4 separate regions of the Homo sapiens genome follow, and all the other regions are linked to region 3. The links are contacts of gene promoters, found by promoter capture Hi-C in blood cells and fetal thymus (Javierre and others, 2016). All regions are on one chromosome and are shown on one strand. Each heading gives the region's core, a stretch centred on a gene start or on the middle of the fragment in contact. The rest is flanking DNA. Distances are from core to core; before and after follow the strand shown.

What was found. The method cuts DNA at HindIII sites, captures the fragments that hold promoters and counts their contacts. A CHiCAGO score of 5 or more calls a contact.
Region 1: a fragment that was not itself captured here is called in contact with the fragment with the promoter of C4orf17 in region 3 in 1 of 17 cell types (endothelial precursors); the score reaches 5.8 in endothelial precursors.
Region 2: a fragment that was not itself captured here is called in contact with the fragment with the promoter of C4orf17 in region 3 in 1 of 17 cell types (activated CD4 T cells); the score reaches 5.4 in activated CD4 T cells.
Region 4: a contact is called between a fragment that was not itself captured here and the fragment with the promoter of C4orf17 in region 3, in 1 of 17 cell types (endothelial precursors). The highest score is 5.4, in endothelial precursors.

Annotation. Positions count from the first base shown.
Region 1 is chr4:99,826,790-99,829,489 of GRCh38, reverse strand. The region is part of intron 1 of DAPP1 (dual adaptor of phosphotyrosine and 3-phosphoinositides 1); the gene reads right to left. Among named protein-coding and RNA genes, the nearest start is that of DAPP1, 11 kb to the right of the region's middle. The HindIII fragment of the contact is 163 bases long and covers 1,277-1,439 here.
Region 2 is chr4:99,888,992-99,891,691 of GRCh38, reverse strand. All of the region lies in intron 3 of LAMTOR3 (late endosomal/lysosomal adaptor, MAPK and MTOR activator 3), which reads left to right. Among named protein-coding and RNA genes, the nearest start is that of LAMTOR3, 4.1 kb to the left of the region's middle. The HindIII fragment of the contact is 538 bases long and covers 1,008-1,545 here.
Region 3 is chr4:99,509,583-99,512,282 of GRCh38, reverse strand. It overlaps C4orf17 (chromosome 4 open reading frame 17), which reads right to left and starts at 1,262. Exons shown (of 9, transcript NM_032149.3): 1 at 1,011-1,262. The HindIII fragment of the contact is 4,126 bases long and covers 1-2,130 here.
Region 4 is chr4:99,805,694-99,808,393 of GRCh38, reverse strand. No RefSeq gene overlaps it. Among named protein-coding and RNA genes, the nearest start is that of DAPP1, 9.8 kb to the left of the region's middle. The HindIII fragment of the contact is 2,352 bases long and covers 210-2,561 here.

The DNA.
Region 1 (2,700 bases), core at 109-2,608, 320 kb before region 3:
TTTTTTTTTGAGACGGAGTTTCACTCTTGTCACCCAGGCTGGAGTGCAATGGTGTGATCTCGGCTCACTGCAACCTCCACCTCCCGGGTTCAAGCAATTCTCCTGCCTCAGCCTTCTGAGTAGGTGGGACTACAGGTGTGCACCACCACACCTGGCAAATTTTTGTATTTTTAATAGAGACAGGGTTTCACCATATTGGCCAGGCTGGTCTCAAACTCCTGACCTCAGGTGATCTGCCAACCTCAGCCTCCCAAAGTGTTGGGATTGCAGGCATGAGTCACTGCGCCTGGCCAGAGAACCTTCTTATTTTCATGTATTGGAAAAATTTTCTTCTTTTATAAATTTTTTATGCAATTCTTTAACTTTTACAGAAAAAAAACTAGATTTGCTAAATTAAACAATGTATTATGGATATGCTAGACATTTGCAAAGTGGTAGGAACACACTGTTATGCAGTTGGGAATAGGTTCATTTTTTGAAACTTAAAAAAAAAATTCTTCTAGTCTCATTTTCCCTGAAGAAGCAAAAAAGAGCAAGAAACTCCTATTAGAAAGAATGTTAATAGTCTCCATTTTCCCCAAGGCCCACACATTGCCATAATTATGTCTCAAGTCTGATAAAGTCAACAGAGAAAAGACTAATCAAGCTCCAAAAGAATATTTGTACTGGGTTTATAAGATTATGAAAACCAGCAATTCAACTTGAAGGAAACAGTGATATTATCCTTTCCATGATACAGTAAAAAACTAGGAAACACCACCCACTAAAGAATTTTCATAGCTGCCTCTTAGTAAGATACAGAAAATAAACTCAGCCACAGAGAATGTGGACAGGCTGGATCCAGAAAGCTGGTCCTCGGTTCAGCTTCCTTTCCTTTCATTCTGGGGCCTCTTTGAGCTAGAATCTTCTGGAAAATTGCTCCAGAATAGTGGAACCTTCATAGTTTCTTATCCCACTGGGTTTTACTGTTTTAATTTACTAATCTAACTTTATACCTCATTTGTTCTGTTCTTTAAAGGAGAGGCTTTTAAATTTTTTGAATTGACTCACAGTACAAAATACATTTTATATCACTCTGTATATATATAAACATACATATGTCACAAAGACGCACAAAAAACAAAAAGTTACAGGACGTAACACCTATCTTTCTATAGGCTATTAACTTGAATATATTGTTTTCTCTTTATTTTGAATGAATATTGATGTGACCCATTAAATTCACTTTAAGCCTACTAACGGGTTGTACCTGATGTTTAAACCACAGTGCAAAGCTTTGCTACTTAAAGTATGGACCAACAGCATCAGCATCACCTGGGATCTTGTCAGAAATGCACAACAACAGTGTTTGAATAATTTCTAAACTCTATAGTACTCTTATCCAATCTTTGCCTACATATTGCTAATGATGGGGAACTCAGTACTTGTATAGGCAAGCTTAATCCATATGTTCATGATTCATGGTTAGAAAACTCTTGGGCTACAATGAATTGCCATTTTTTGCTGTGTAGATGGCTTTCAGCAGATGGTTTCAGAGCTACTTCTTGGAGTTACATAGATGATACTTATAGAAAGAGTTGAAAGCATTTAGAATGCACCTTCTTCTCTTTCCATCATCTTCAGCTTTTCCTTTTATGACAGGCTTTCAGTTCCTTTATCATCCAGGGACCTTATCACCCAAAGAACTCATCTCATCTGAAAACCTTTCAAACTTAAAAAATCTGTCTTAACGTTAAACTCTGACCTGCAAAACAAAGCAGCACAGGAGCTCCCTTATTCTGGCTGCTGGGCACACATAAGGCAGCCCGAGAATGCATTAGTTTCTTCACAATTGCATCACATAGCTGATTCACACTGGACTTACTGTTGATTAAAACTTCCAATTAGGTCATTTCCTTCATCTGCACTTATAAGTGTGATGGTGTTTTTTGTTTTGTTTTTTTGTTGTTTTTTTTTTGAGACGTAGTCTGACTCTGTTGCCCAGGCTGGAGTGCAGTGGCTCGATCTCGGCTCACTGCAAGCTCTGCCTCCCGGGTTCACGCCATTCTCCTGCCTCAGCCTCCCGAGTAGCTGGGACTACAAGTGCCCACCACCACACCTGGCTAATTTTTGTATTTTTAGTAGAGACGGGGTTTCACCTTGTTAGCCAGGATGGTCTCGATCTCCTGACCTCGTGATCCGCCCGCCTCAGCCTCCCAAAGTGCTGAGATTACAGACCGCGCCCAGCCAAGAGTGATGGTTTTAAAATCAGGTGCAATAAGAAACTTTTTACTACTGGGAAGTGTCAAGTGAAAAGAGTTGCTAATGAGCAGCCAACATGGACCACACACAACCTCAGGCCCCTCCCTCAACCTGCTAAGTCCCACGTGATTGTTATGCACTTTAGAGTTTGAGGAGCATGTATGGGAAGGACTCTTGGGCCTGAAAACTTTAATTCACTTCAATAATGTGAACAGTTTGAGTTCACAGAATTTGGCATTTGAAGAGAAGGGCAAAGCAAAGTACTAAGTGACTTTTCAGTACCAACAGAATGGAAAAGAGAAGGATCTGCAGGTTAACATAGAAGAATCACCAAATAGCTGCTATCTTAGTGATATGGACAGTAAATATTATAGCATAGGAAGGGGAGCTCACAGTGGGCTGGAATGATCAGGGAAAACTTCATGGAGCGGGAGAATGATAAACTGCAGTATGAAGAAT
Region 2 (2,700 bases), core at 27-2,526, 380 kb before region 3:
AGCATTATTACTTTTCATTTCTTTGCTGTATTTCGTCTTTGTTGGCCAGTTTCCTCTTTTTATTATCTCTTTTTCTAAATGTCACATACTTTATCATTGGGAGACAAGGAGGTACAAAACTACATGCTTTGCTATCTCTGCATGAGCTGCATAACAGATGCACAGTGACCAACCATCAACATACTTTGAAAGAAATGATGTGGCTGGTTACTGATGACAGTGTGCATCTGTTAATTACATAATTATTTATGTAGTGATTTGTGGACTAAAGAGTTAGAAAAGTTTATACTTTACGTAGTTATTGAGGTATTATGCCATGCTAACTAAAATTTGACCTGTGCTCTTCTGCAGGGAGTGGTATTACTTAACCATAGTAACTAAAATGTGCATATTGGAACTATGCAAAATGAGGGCTTTCTGTGTTTTTCTGTAGTTACCTTAGCGTAATGAAAGGGCGCTCAAATTGGGACGGAGAGATACCCCACTACGCTGGTGATATGATGAAATAGTTAATAGTACATAGTTAATTCACTTAGAAGTCTTAGTGATTTACAGTCCTCTTTTGAGTGTTAGCATCTCTTATTGAAGAAACAGCAAAATTGCATTCAATGTTCTTAAGTTATAAACCGACCAGAAAGATACTCATTAGTCACCTGGAGATCTAATAAAGCAATAATTGATTCTAATTACATCATCTGTGATTATAAGCAATAAAAATGTTTCAGACAATGGGGATCTCATTTTAACTATTAAGTGTGCTCTCAAAATCATAATAGCGTGTGACACTGGATATGATGAAGCTGTCTGTGTAAAGGAATTAGAGAATAATACCAAAAGTATTTATTATATTACTGAGTAGTTCTAATGTTGATCAAAAATAGTTGGAAAGTAAATGCTTGCTTCTTCTTTGAATTTAGATGTCTCTTATCTTTTAACAAAAGGGGAAATATCAGGTTGTTGTGCTTATCCAAGAAATAAATTCAGTTAAAGGATATTTGTTAAAAGCTTTATGAAAATCTTTCATAATGGCAGGAAAGGTATTAGTACTGTCAGTTTTTTTTTTAATAATGAAAAAAAGCCAGTTCAACTCATTATATCATTTATTGAAAATAGGCTTATTGCATCCCAGAACAGTAATAATGAAGAAATAATAATGTTTTGAACATTTATGAAGAATAGTAGAATATACGCTTTGATTTGTTGCTAGATGTATGGGTTTGGATGCAGGCATCCTGCTTCAGAGCCATGGATTCATGCTTTTAACTGTTGTACCTCAGTGCCTCTCAGTAACAAAGTCAGCCAGCTACGGATACTAATGGAATGTGTGTTTTTGTGCGTTTTTTGAATTCTCTGCAAAATATCGTTCTTGTATTTGCAATTTAAAATCTGGTTGTGACCCAAAGCAGTCTCAGGCTTTAATAATCCCACTTTGTATGTTTTAAAACAACCAAATATTTCATAATTATGTGTATAAAACTAAATCCGATGTCTTTGATTAGTAATGCAACATTTGTTTTTAGAAAAAAATGGTTGTTTTAGTAAGCTTAAGGTTTAGATTTCTTCAGAATATTTCACAAAATTTAATTCATTTCTTCTAAAAGTGTAGTATCTCTTAATGAGCCAGTTATTTTTAATTATTAGTAAATTCTATTTATATTACTCTTTGCGCATTGTATGTAGAATTGAAAACAGCTTTTATATTTGTGACCTGATTTCTAAAATTATATACTTAAGAGTGTAAGTAATTTTTCTACTTTCTTGATTCATTTCTCTGTGAAGTCCATCAAAAAGAAAGTCCTTTTATTTTCTTTGGAGCATTAGTTGTATTTAAAGTAATTTCCATGGAAATTTAAAAAAAGAAGCTACCTGTGGTGGCACTAATTTTTCTAAACATTTTTGTGGTCCTCTTTTTACCTGCTTTTTAATTTATTTTGGGGGTAAGTAGTACATTCACAGAGTTCAGATTCAAGACTTAACTGAAGAACATAGAGTGAGAAGCTGCCCATCCTTCCTCTCCAGCCACATGCACAGTTTCCCCTCAAAGAGGCACCCACCATTACCTACAGAGATATTTTATGTACCTATGAGCAGACATGTATATACACGTATTTATACACACAACATACACATATGCCTGCATATTTTGGTACATAATTTATTGCTTCTTCTATACACTGTTCTAAACTGTGTATTTTTTCACTTAAGAATGTAACTTTGAGAGTAATCTTTCCTGGTACATAGAGAACTTCCTCTTTCTCATGGCTGCAGAGTATTCCAGAGTATTCCTTTGTAGGTGTATATCATAACTTACCTTGTCCTTCTTGATGGACAGTTGGATTTGTAATGCTTTACTGTTTCAAATGATGTTGCTTTTGGTAACTGCACAAAATAATTGGCTTATGTACAAATATCTGTAGTATATGTTTTATATAACCTAGTTTTTAACTTAGAAGAATATATTTATTTTATGTATTAATCTTTTTGTTGTTGTTGTTGAGACAGACTCTCGTTCTGTCACCCAGGCTGGGAGTGCAGTGGCGCAATCTTGGCTCACTGCAACCCAGGTTCAATCGATTCTTATGCCTCAGTCTCCCAAGTAGCTGGGATTACAGACAAGCACCACCACACCCAGCTAATTTTTGTGTTTTTGGCTGAGACGGGGTTTCATCATGTTGGCCAGGCTGGTCTCAAACTCCTGAC
Region 3 (2,700 bases), core at 13-2,512:
GAAAATAGTATGCTTTTGAAATCTAAGAAGGATGATTTTCTGGTGCTTGTTGTATTTTTTCTATCTTACATGAAAATCTTATTCATCGTAGCAGAATTGGGAAATACACATTTTATTTATAACCATGGCAGAGACTTTTTGGGTTAGAATAATTTGCAGTGTCAAAAAATGTTCATGTTCTAGAAATTGATCTCAGGATTTTGTTGGGATGGATGCTTTTAGATCGTTGACTACCTTTTTAGAACAAAGCAATCTATGTTTAAGTGTTTCATGCTATATACTTAGACTGTATGGTGTATAAATTCCCAGACTTGTTGCCACAGAATATCTGGTTTTCAGGAACTTCAGTTTGATATATATAAATACTAAAATTATCCTAGGTTGGGTAAAATATATGTAGACATTAAATGCAGAAAATATCTATCTAGCAATAAAAAGTATATTTTCTTATTGCTGTTTATGAATATCACAGTGAGGAGCTAGTTCTAATCTCTTTGTTTAAATCACACTTTAGACTTACTCATTCTTTTGGTGTGGGACCTTTTGTACAATTAAGCCAGTAAATTTGCTTTTTACTTGTATTGAGGGGAAAAGAGTACAGCAGACAATTTGGAGAGTGAAAAAGACATTAAACCAGAAATTTAAAGATAGGATTCATGGTCCCAGATTTGCCATTAACCAGCAAAGTGACCACAGATTAATTGTTTTATTGCCTAGATTTCAGTCTGTTTGTCTATTACCTGATGAAATTGACTTAAATGTTAGCTGATATTATTCAGTTATTCTGTATGTGTCTGTCCCACATCAATTCTCTTAGATTAAAGGGTAGTGATACACTTTAAATTTTGAAAAAAAAAAAGTCAACAAGAAAACAATGTGTATTTCATTTTCTTAAAACAGACTTATTTGGCTTTCACATACTCTTGAAAAAAGAATGAACTTGAGGACTATTAACTAAATCATACCTAAAATTTTAGAACATTATTGTAATGATGAATTTAAAATTATACCTGAGGACAATATTAAAAGCAGGTGATCTTGCTGACAAGAACTCAAGTCTGTTGATACCCTCCCAGCCTCATAATATGTCTAGACTGAGTTTTTGTTGATCTCCTTAAATCTCTGCACTTAAGCTAGAAGTTTTTAGTTGGTAGAGACAGACCAATCTCGAACGCTTCCAAAAGAATACAGCTGTCTTCATCCAGTTTCTCACACTCTTACTCCAAGGAGCCTGTGTGGCTCCCTGGTTGTTAAGATATGTTACATAGCTTAGCAACGTGGTAACATTCCTTAGAAAAATCTAAGTTCTAGAACCTCTCACCCACTATTCTTCTCAGACCTCCAGTTACCCACTTGACAAAACCATGTGGCCACAAATGGCTTTCCTCAATTTTGGACATATAATAGAGTTAAATCCAATGCAAGAGAAAGAAAAAGAAGAAAAATAAAACAGAGAGCAATATAAATCAAATTTATAATTTTTCCCACAATTCTGCTTAAAGAACAATTATGATATAACCAAATATAGCTTAATCCAAAACCAACGGGGAGAAGGTATACATGCTTTTAAGGAGTTTCTAATAGTTGTGAATGGAATATACTGCTTTGGTAGTCAGGATGTCTGTGCTGATGACATGTTCAATAGCCATGAAAAAATATTGAAATGTTAATTAGAAGTCATAGAGAAACACACACACATGTACATGCGGTGCTTCACAAGACTTTTCAGAATACACATGATTTTGAATTTCTGAATTACAATCTCTAAGAGCAATATAGACAATTTCTGAAAGGCAAATACTAGCTTAAAACAATGCAAGGATAGAGCCTAATTTGTCTGTTTTCTTGACTGGCCCAAGAATTAAAGGTTTAATTGCCTTTGCCTATAACCCATTCTTATGCCTTATGCCTCCCTGTTTTACTGTAGTTTATGGGGAATTTTATGGGAGATCTAATTGACTTTCTAAGGTAATTTTTGTATTCTGAGATTTTTAGTTTTCACTTTGTATCAGTTGAGAAACTTTATTACACAGCTAATAACAGAGATCAGAAATAGTGTTCTAAGTAAGATAGATGTGTATTTCTTCCTCACATGGAAGAGTTCAACCATCTAGGGTTGGTATGGAAGCTTTATGAAGCATCATTATGGACCTTGGCTTCATCTATGTTTTAGGTCCATCTTTCTTAATATTAGGCTTCCATTTTTGAAATTATCCCTTGTTCAAGATGGTTCCTGAAGTTCCAGTCATCCAAGATGGCTGCTATATTTGCACATATCAAATCTGTACTCCAAGCAGGAAACAAGAGGAAGGTTGGGGAGGTAAGGGCTGACAAGGGCACATGCTAGCTATCTGCTCTCTTTGTAAGAGCCTTCTCATGAGTCTCAGACAATAATCTATGTTGCATTGATGATTTATAGCTACAAGAAAGGATAGAAAATGTAGTTTCTTAACAGGGCACATTGACACCCCATTCTAAAACAGGGGCTCTAACAAGAGAGGGAGAAAGTATAAATCGGGTTATAAAAAGCAATCTCAACCACAGATCCTGACATTAATACCTAACTCTGGGTAGGAGAAGTCTACACTCTGTGTGCTGTGCTTTCCCTTAGAGAGGGTCACTAGAGATAAACATGTACTTGGCTATGTAACTATGTTATTTTCCATTTATGAAGCCCCATGGGGAATTTTCCTGTCTCAT
Region 4 (2,700 bases), core at 136-2,635, 300 kb before region 3:
TCCATCGCTTTTTCCTTCCTCTCTATGAAAGTATAGTTCTTTATTAAAGTAGCTGAATTCAGGTGATACTACCCAACACCACATTTGTAGAAGATTCCTTAAACGCCAGACTACTAAACCATTAAATGATTCAGGTATAATTTATTACCTGTCTCACCAAGTTTTAAATGGTTCAATTCTTAGTTCTGCTCTCTTTTCCCTTTAAAGCTTTGAGACCTTTACTGAAAGAATTTAAATGAGTAGGAAGTGATTGAAATCTAAAAATTCAATTTTATACCTAAAAATGATTTTCATTTCTGCAATTGCAATATATTTTAAGCACTTACTTTTTCCTCAGCTCATTTGGTAAATATAAATCTTCAAAGCATTTCAATTTTCATTTAAAATAAGGAATGTAGGTGACTCTAAAACTGCTAACGTAGAGCCCTGTCACAGTAACGGTGACTGGAAATAGTGAAAATTCTTCAGGGTTCTCAGCGTTACAGTGAAGGCAGCTTGGGAACAGCTCCCCGATTACAGAGACAGTGACTCAGCCACAGCAACAACTTTGAAGTAGATTTTGTCACTGTTCCTGGGTGGCCCATGGGTCTGAGTTTTCTCTGTTAATCATATAAATATGAGATCTTTGGTATTTTAAATATTTTAAGGGTGGTAAAGAGAAGTTTCTCTTAACATGTAAATGTTTTTGTTCTGTCTATCTAAAGGAGACATTATAGAGATGATTTTTTTTGAGATGGGGGTCTCACTGTGTTGTCCAGGTTGGTGTTGAACTCCTGGCCTTAAGTGATCCTCCTGCCTCAGTCTCTCAAAGTGCTGGGATTACAGGCATCCGTCATTGTGCCCAGACACAAAGTGAATTTTATCCAGAAGGTTAGGTGGGGGATGGAAGCAGGAGGAAGAGCAAAATTATGAGGAACTATGAGTGGTTAAAAAAAAAATGTGAAGAGAGCAGGAGAACTATAAAAGAGAGTACTGACAGGATGGTGTGATAGGTGACTGAACCAGTAATCCACCCGAAGCAAAAAGGATAAACCTGGCCCTGAAGGGGGCCACATCAGAGCAAAAATAAAGGCTTCAGAAGACCCTGGAGGGTGGGGAGCATGGAGGTGACACACTGGAAGCTGAAAGCTAAGGGCTGCAGCAGGGCTTCTCCCAGGACAGGCTGTGCACCACCAGCCTCAAAATCCCCAAGGCACAGGGCCCTGGGGCCTGCATCTTGGACAGTTGCCCCAGGTGATTCTGATGTTCGGCAAAGGTTGAAGAGCACCCGAGTCTGTGGAAGAGCCTGCAGACCAAAAGTAATGTGGTGACGGGTCTGTGGGCTCCTGGGGCAATAACGAGTGCCATAAGCCTGTGCCAAGAAAAGATGGTACCTTGTGACCTAATAAGCTATCCACGTTTGTGTCAGTCAACACCCATCACAAAAGAAGCCTGTCATTCCTTGGACCATCTGTGTGTGCTCACGAGCAATGGGCTGTGTAAGGAGAAAAAGAAGGACTTCCAAAACCAAGAAAGGTTTTCGGGCTTGGAGGTATCAACTAAGTAACCTCAAACTCTTTTGTCTCAGTAACTCTTGGCTGCAGCTCAGCTGAGACTCAGCTATGCTGGCATCAGGAGTTGGCGGCTCCCTGTGGAGATCCTCCAAGTGCTCTCAGCAAACAAGGCCTTCTTAGGGTAATAGGTTGCTCGATGACACTGATGATCCAGATGACCAGAGGTCCCATGGTGGGGGACTTAACTTGATCCAGGCTTAGGATACAAACCAGTCTGACAGACAAGGGCAAATAGGAAAGGGATGGAGCTGGACTTCTGGGAGTAAAAAAGGGAGTCCCTGGGAGGAAGAATCCTTATAGGTGAGGATTCACGGCTTCAGGGCCAAGGGCAGGCAGGTCTTGGTGGTTGTTCTTGGCCTTAACTCAACCTAATCTTGCCTACTCTCTAGCAAGATTTTGTGTCCTGGAAGGAAAGGGCATGATGATGCTCAGTAGTGTTATTGCTTCCTAAGTGATCCAAGTCACCTCAGCCTGTTGGGTTGAGGGAATCCAAGTCCCCTAACCCTTTCCTTTAATTAATGAAAAGAATATCCCCTCCAGGCTTCCCTATCTCACATGCTGTGGCCAATCCAGTGATCTGACAATCCAGTGAGATTTCCATGAATTCTGGGGGCTTACAATATCATAGTTTCTGTTCCTCTTACTTCCTGCTTCCATTGACATCTAAGCCACTGAGCCAGTCAGCCAGCGTGCCTTGTGAGGTTGTTCTCTTCTCTCTGTACCACCTGACCAAACAGTAGACATGGTGCCTCTAAGTGCAGCTGTCTTGTCAAACGGTCAAGGATAGCAGACTTGACTAAAGTTTTGCTTAGAGAAATGGAGGAAAGTTTGCATTATAACACAGCTTACATAAAAACTTAACATTAAATAGCAGACATAGCCAAGCATGGTGGCTTATGCCTGCAATCCTAGCAGTTTGGGAGCCCAACGTGGGAGGATTGCTTGAAGCAAGGAATTCAAGACCAGCCTGAGCAAAATAGCAAAGACAGCCTGCCTCTAGAAAAAGCTTTAAAAAATTAGCCAGGTATGGTGGCACATGCCTATAGTTCCTGCTGCTCAGTGGCTGAGGCAGTAGGATCATGTTAGCCAAGGAGTTTGAGGCTGCAGTGAGCTACGGTTGCACCATTGCACTCCAGCCTGAATGACA